Linked DNA regions of Homo sapiens: region 2 is linked to region 1. The links are contacts of gene promoters, found by promoter capture Hi-C in human tissues and cell types (Jung and others, 2019). All regions are on one chromosome and are shown on one strand. Each heading gives the region's core, a stretch centred on a gene start or on the middle of the fragment in contact. The rest is flanking DNA. Distances are from core to core; before and after follow the strand shown.

What was found. The method cuts DNA at HindIII sites, captures the fragments that hold promoters and counts their contacts. A contact is called where the count stands out against the background at its distance.
Region 2: a contact is called between a fragment that was not itself captured here and the fragment with the promoter of SNAP25 in region 1, in 2 of the 25 tissues and cell types used here (dorsolateral prefrontal cortex and hippocampus).

The regions. Positions count from the first base shown.
Region 1 is chr20:10,216,493-10,220,285 of GRCh38, forward strand. It overlaps SNAP25 (synaptosome associated protein 25), which reads left to right and starts at 2,338. Exons shown (of 8, transcript NM_130811.4): 1 at 2,338-2,485. It overlaps SNAP25-AS1 (SNAP25 antisense RNA 1), which reads right to left and starts at 3,014. Exons shown (of 5, transcript NR_040710.1): 1 at 2,745-3,014. The HindIII fragment of the contact is 5,357 bases long and covers 121-3,793 here.
Region 2 is chr20:9,617,179-9,620,934 of GRCh38, forward strand. All of the region lies in intron 3 of PAK5 (p21 (RAC1) activated kinase 5), which reads right to left. It overlaps LOC101929348 (a long non-coding RNA gene), which reads left to right and starts at 2,829. Exons shown (of 3, transcript XR_244242.4): 1 at 2,829-2,913. The HindIII fragment of the contact is 7,662 bases long and covers 1-3,756 here.

The DNA.
Region 1 (3,793 bases), core at 1,088-3,587:
TTGTCTGTCATTTTTATAGATGTCAGTGTGGGGCATCAGCAGTTGAAAACTCAGAATACCAAGCCAGTCCTTCCCTGTGACTGCTACATAGCTTTTGCCTGCAGGATAAGCCTCCATCACTGACGTAGTTGCTTTTTAACTTCTTTTTTTTTTTTAACTTGGAAAATCCCCCACCTCCTCCATTCCTTCACAAAACTTTCTGCCTGAATGATTTCTAGTCTGAGGGCCATACACACATTTTTTTTTCTCCCTCTGCAGGTTTTTTTTTCTCTTCAAACTTCCGCATGCTGCCTTTTTTTAAAGTGTCACACTTTGGAAAAAATTCTGACTACAAAGGATTTTGCAGTACATTGCATTCAAACCCCTTTCCCCCTATTCCAACTTGCTTTATAATGAAAGTAAGAGCCATACTCAAGAGACTTTTATTGGCAATTAAGTATCTAAGGACTTTGCAGATTTTCTTCTTTATTGTATGGCAATCTTAAATGTTTAATGAATATTTAAGTAAACAAATTTCAGCAACATGCCTTTTTTAGGAATTTGGCTTTAATTAACATCCAAACACTGTTAATTATTATGGCAAAAACATCAATACGTCAAAAAAAAGCCTTCAGGCCAGGGAATCTTTAAGAAACAATTATGTCTACTAATTTCGATTAAAGGTATCCTTTATTAAATTCTTAACAACCCGTCTCTTTCTAAACGCAGCGCCTTCACAACTCTTCTTCCCTTCCCCCTACCCCGCTTCCCTCCCTCCGCAATGGAGCGCAATCAAAGGCCGTATTATTGCCTAAGCTTGGCTCTCAGGCCAGCTAGGGATGTGTGTGTGTGTGTGTGTGTGTGTGTGTGTGTGTGTGTGGTGGGGCGGGGGTGGGGGGCGAGGGTGCAAGGGGAGAGGTTGTACGCCGCTTTTCCGAACCCAGCTCTAAATGGTTTCTCCTAAGCGAGACAAGGATTTTCCATAGCCTAAAAGAGGCCATCAAGTTTTAACATTGCGAGGCACGACTTCTAATCGCATCCTTCCCGGAAAAGTACAAACAGTTCCTCAGACGAGGTCCCCCACCTCCCACGCGCTCCCCAGCCCTCCCTCCCTGCGGAGAGCCCCGCGACAGCCTCCCCAACACCTGTGAATCATCCGGGAGGCTGCCACCGCCGAGCGATCCGCGCACCACCCCCTTCCCGGGCCCGGGCACGGCCAGGGAGGACAGTTAGGGTTGTTGCTTTATAATTATCACTTTTAATCTCTAATACGACCAGCACAAGTAGCCTTTGTCTCCCCGCCCTGATTTGAGCATCCGAGGGCCCCCCGAGGCAGCCTGCACGGGTACCCCGGGGTTTGCGCACTGAGTGAACCCCCAGATTCGGCCGTGTCCCAGCCGTCCTTGCTCTGAATCCCCCACCTCCTCCCGGCCGTTTGGACGGTTCCCTCGGGGCGTCTGTGCCTCCGTGGGGTACCCCTAAGACACCCAGCATGAAACCCCAGCACCGACTGCAAATTCCACCGAAAGCAGAGTCATCCGTTTTTGCCCTCGGCAAACAACTCAACTTCAAGCCTCGAGTCCTTGCAAACCCACGCTGGCTGGGCTAACTCCGCTTCCCTTCTCCTTCCCCCGACTCCTGCAACAGCTCAGAGAGCCTGGCTCTGACGTAGTTCAAAATAACGTGCGCCAGCCTCGCTGCCCGGCTGACCACAGCAACGAGAGCCACAAGCCCTCGACGCTGCTTCGATAACATGAAGCAATCACTCATAAAAATAGCAACCCACGTAGCCTGGCCATATATGGAGCTGGCGAGGGTGGACGGGGATGCCCCTACGGACCCTCTTCGGAGAAAACAAATCGCCGCTGAAATTTCCCCCACCCCTCCCATCACTACCTTTTACCCCTCCTCTGCCTTCCCCTCTCCTTAGATGACTCAACCACAGATTCCACTGAAAGGGGGTGGGGGTGGGGGTGGGGGGGAATATATACACATACACACAAATTATACATATATTATACATGTATTATAAAATATACACACACATACATATATACATACACACACATATACACATATGTACACACACACGCACACACACCAAAGAACATCAGGAATGCAGTTGCGGGATGAACGCGTTTGCCCAAGACCGAGTGTTAAAATGGAGTCATAAGAGTCGCCCCGTGCGGGTGTTTATAGAAGGTGAAAACACGCAGGTTTGCAGGCCAGCGCACTGGGAACCGAGTCAAGCGCGCCGCAGCCCGGGCCCCGCCCCCGCCCCCGCCGTGCCCCGCCCCCACTTCCTCCCGCCCCTCGCTGGGCGGCTATTAAAAGCTGCTGACGTCAAAACGGACGGCCATCTTTGATGAGGGCAGAGCTCACGTTGCATTGAAGACGAAACCTCGGGGAGGTCAGGCGCTGTCTTTCCTTCCCTCCCTGCTCGGCGGCTCCACCACAGTTGCAACCTGCAGAGGCCCGGAGAACACAACCCTCCCGAGAAGCCCAGGTAAGAACCCCCCTCCCCAGGTCGTGGCTCTGGCTCGGGATGGCTGCATACCCAGAAGGGACAGCAGCTGGGCAGTCCGAGTGGGCTTGGGTAAATACAAGTATTGGTGCACTTAGGGTGCGGTATTCCGTGTGTGCACGTCTGGTGGGGGCTTTATAAAGTGTTTTCGAGGTGAGCTGCTGGGGAAAAGGGAAACGGGAGCCCTGCAAATGGAGCGACGGGGAGGAAGAGCGAGGGTACGTACCGAATAATAACTTACTCTTTTGAAACAGTAGTGGGACCCCCTCTTTCTTCCATTTTGCGATGCAGTTTTCAGAGATATTTAGGCTGTTGAGTTTTCCTCCCCTGTCGTTCTAACCCTATTATTATGACTGTTGTCGTTAGGGTGCTATTATCCAGGGAAGAATTAAGGGGGAGACAGGGTGTGGGTGCTGGGGAGGCGAAAGGAGAAAGGGGGAGTTCCCGCCCCGGGCAAGCTGAGCTGCTGCAGCGACAGCAGCCTCCATGCCCCGCGGACTTGATTTATGCCGCCTGCTCCACGTCAACTGCAGGCTGGCGGGAGGCGGGCGGGTCGTGCCGGGTGGGAGGGCTCTGCGGAGGGCTGGCGCGGGTGGGCTGGCTTCGGGGACTGCGGCGGCCCGCGCTCAGCACCCTGGATAGCAACACCGAGGGCTCGCGCGGGCGCCCTCGACCTTTCAGCACCGGGGACAGCGGTCCGGCCGCAGCGCCTCATCTGCCTGCGGCAGAAATGCCTGGCCGGGGCTGGATGTGCCAGGGCTGGAGACCAAATTGTCTCCCTGAGACCCCGGTCTTACGGAGACCCTTAATAGAGGAGTCATAGTAGCTTAAAAGAAAACAAGAAAGAAATAAATCTTCCTCACAGAGACTCCTTTGCAGACAATTTCCTGTTCCCCTCCTCACCTCCTGCATAGCTTCAACAAAATAGTCTACTTGTGGAAATCTTCTGTGTTGCCCTCTGACCCTTATTTTACGTAGAAAATAAATACATTTTTTAAAAAATATGGATTTATCCTCCAGCAGGGTATCAAGGTTTTTGTTTGGTTTTGTTTTTTAACACAGAGTAGATCTGTCTACAGATCTTGGGTGAGCATAAGTACTGTATATATGAAGAAGCCAATGCTATCTGTTTATAGGGATGATACATCTCTCTCTATGTTTCCATTTGATAAAAATGTGAGATTAGCTGAACTAAGCAGAATCAACTTTAAGAATGAATCACTCTTCCTTTTCCTTCTTCCCCCATCCTTGCAATCAGGCATGAATACAAGCATTCATCCACAAAAACAC
Region 2 (3,756 bases), core at 591-3,090, 600 kb before region 1:
CTGCCAAGTTAAAGCTTCAATACATCTGATGTGTGAGCTGTACGAACTTTTCAGGGACACTAGGTGGCGCCCGTGTACTTTTCTTGAGAAAGCCAGGCTGCTTTAACCATTTAAAATTTCAATCAGTGGAAAGAAACGAGTTAGCCCAGTGGTTCTCAAAGACATTGAGTCAAAACTCTGGGGATTGGGCCCCAGATCTGTACGGTAAGTAATTCTTCCCAGACGATTTTATTTTTATACCAGTTGGTTAATGTAATGACATTGGAAACAGCTAGCACAGTTAAGCGCTTAATTGCTTAATTGTAATATGATAAAACTGAGGCTGAGAGACTTACTCAATTTGCAGGGATGAGACCCAAGAATCCCAATCCTTTTTTTTTTTTTTTTTTTTTTTTGAAATGGAGTCTCGCTCTGTCACCCAGGCTGGAGTGCAGTGGTGCGATCTCGGCTCACTGCAAGCTCCACCTCTTAGGTTCGCGCCATTCTTCCGCCTCAGCCTCCCGAGTAGCTGGGACTACAGGCGCCCACCACCACGGCCGGCTGATTTTTTGTATTTTTAGTAGAGACGGGGTTTCACCGTGTTAGCCAGGATGGTCTCGATCTCCTGACCTCGTGATCCACCCGCCTCGGCCTCCCAAAGTGCTAGGATTACAGGCGTGAGCCACGACGCCCGGCAAGAATCCCAATTCTTATCTGAACAGCTCTTCTACCAAAGCACGAAAAATAAAAAAAGTGGAAGTTTACATGAGGTTTGTTGTCAAAGCATCAAAGATACCTTTAAGCCTCTAAATTGTGTCCTGAAATTGAAGATACATCTCAGAAGAAAAGGTCGAACCTATCAAAAGAAACGCTACAACGAATTAACATTCAGTGGAGGTAATATTAGTATAAGGAAAAATAAACATTATGTAAGCATGTGACAAATAGGCTTGTAATGTGGCTCTCACACAACTAGATGACAGCATACTCCAAGGAACATACAGCGCTGGGCGACACTATCAAGGGAGAAGGAACAGCTCTAGGAAGTGCCAGAACATACAGTAAATACTACATAACTCCAAAGAGTCAGGTACCCCCCCAAGTTTTAACCCCTCTAAATTATAATCAAATTGATAAAACATAGCTCCACTCCATGTGGCTACAGAGTTTTCTGTTAAGATCCCCTGCCCAGTGTTATTGCTGAGACATATGTTGATACACAGGACAGACTATTACGGCCTGGAACTTTTTTTTTTTTTTTTTTTTTGAGACAGAGTCTCGCTCTGTCACCCAGGCTGGAGTGTAATGGCACAATCTTGGCTCACTGCAACCTCTGCTTCCCGAGTTCAAGTAATTTTCCTGCCACAGCCTCCCGAGTAGCTGAGATTGCAGGCATGTGCCACCAGGCCCAGCTAATTTTTTTTTTTTTGTATTTTTAGTAGAGATGGGGTTTCACCATGTTGTCCAGGCTGGTCTTGAACTCCTGACCTCGTGATCCACCCACCTTGGCCTCCCAAAGTGCTGGGATTACAGGCGTGAGCCACTGCGCCCGGCTGGAACTTATTTTTAATTCAATCATCAAATCTTTATTGAGCAGGGTGACAGGTACAGTTCTATAAGTACAAGCAACTTAAGGAAAAGCTGAGATGAATCGATATTTTCATAACATATCATATGTTTCAGGACTGGAGGTTTTAAGAGGAAGAAAGGAAGGTAGAAAGTGGCTTCTCTCAGATTCTTTTCTCTCTCTTTCTTTCGTTTTTTTTTTTTTTTTTTTTTTTTTTTTTTTTTTAATCTCACTGTTGCCCAGGCTGGAGTGCAGTGATGGGATCATGGCTCACGGAAGCCTTGACCTCTTTGGCTCAAGTGATCTTCCCACCTCAGCCTCCTGAGTAGCTGGGACTACAGGTGTGTACCACCACAACTAGATAATTTTTGTATTTTTAGTAGAAACAGGGTTTCGCCTTGTTGCCCAGCCTGGTCTGGAACTCCTGGGTTCAAATGATCTGCCTGCCTCAGCCTCCCAAAGTGCTGGGATTACAAGTGTGAGCCACTGTGCCTGGCCAGATCCTATTGTTTACTGTTGTTTTACTTTAGGTAGACCAGAGAAAATAGAAACAAAGAAAGTTTGGAAGAAAAAAGCCATGACTGCTTTTGATCTCAGGAAACTTAGCTATTATCTAGGACATGGCAAGATAAAACTGAAAAACAATTCTATTCCTTCCACGCTTCTCTTTGAAGGAGACACACTTGGCAACCCTGGCCACACTTCTCTTACCCCTTTTCACTGCCCAATACTCTCATTTCTCAGACACCAAATCCCTAACAAACTTCTCAACTCCCAGTTCTTCCTGGCTTTTTCTCCTGCCCTGTCTGCTGTGTTCAGGTCCCTTTTAAGGGTGCCGTTGGATAAATATTTGAACATTCCTAAAGATGAGGAGCTCGCCTTTCCAAGGCAGCCCCTTGCATTGCTGGATAACACATTTCCAAGTCTTGCCCTATTGAGGTAAAGTACTGGAGTCTCTCCGTGCTGCCTTCACTTACCTCTTCCTATTTTTCCTTCCAGGGGATTCCTAGAGGTTATTAATTCCCCTGCTGTGGGACAGTCATTCAATGTTTGAAGAAAGTAATTGTTTACTTCCCTCCCTTGATTCTTTGACAGAAGATCACCAGGGCTCTCAACCAATCATCAGTGCTCTCAACCAATCATCAGTGCTCTCAGACAATCATCAGTGCTCTCAGCCAATCATTAGTGCTCTCAGCCAATCATCAGTACTCTCAGCCAATCATCAGATCACCTGAATTCTAGATTTTCCATCATCTCAGCCACCTTTTTTCACATGCAACTTGTTAAACGTTGTCCAAGGATGAGATGGAATGAAATGGACACCTTTAGTGTACAGATAACATGGACGGAAGTTCTGTTGTAACAAGGTGGGTACAGAAAGTGAGGGCAGAAATATGAATCAGCAACACTGCCCTCCACCACAGCCTTTATTTGCCCATTCACAACACTCTGTAATTAGAGCTAGATCACATGGACAATTATTTCCCCTTTGGAGTAAACATTCCTAGAAGGAAGGACTCATCCCTGATTTATTCAATGTTGTGTCCTCAGCACTGGGCTTGGTATTTGGCTGGCATTTGTTGAAACAAAGATCCTAAAAGGGAACAATGAAAATTTGAATTCAGGTCTCTTCAGAAGGATTGCGGAAAGCAGGAGGAGGATTCTGGGACCATCATGACCTAAACAATTCTCCCTCTCCTCCATGTTCAACTCCAGGGTGTCCACTTCTTTTGACCACATGGCGTCTGGGGCTGATGGGCAGTTGGACCAGCAAGGCTTGGGTGCTGAGGACATCTCAACAGAGAGAGCTTGTGGGCTTGCTTCCACCTGGATGGGGAAGAGGTTGCGCTCTAGCTGCTCATGGGTGGACAGCAGGCTCAGGTCCTGGGAAGAACATGGCTCACAGTGATATGGGGACCCAAGACCGTGAACTATGGCACCATGGATTTCCCAGCTCTGGAGATGTGGTGTTTAAAAGCTATACAGAGTCTCTGCCCTGGAGGTTGGGAGAGTCTGAGAGATGGTGGAGGAAGAGAGGGCTTCCTCCGTGCATCTCAATGGGGAATTGACAGTCTGCCTGCATGACGCCATCAGTCCCCAGGTGTAGTTTCCATTTTGTCTTCCTCTAATCATGGGACTACTACCACACAGAGAAAGAAAATAGCCAGAAAAAATATATATATATTAATATATTGTAACCAAAGGTATCC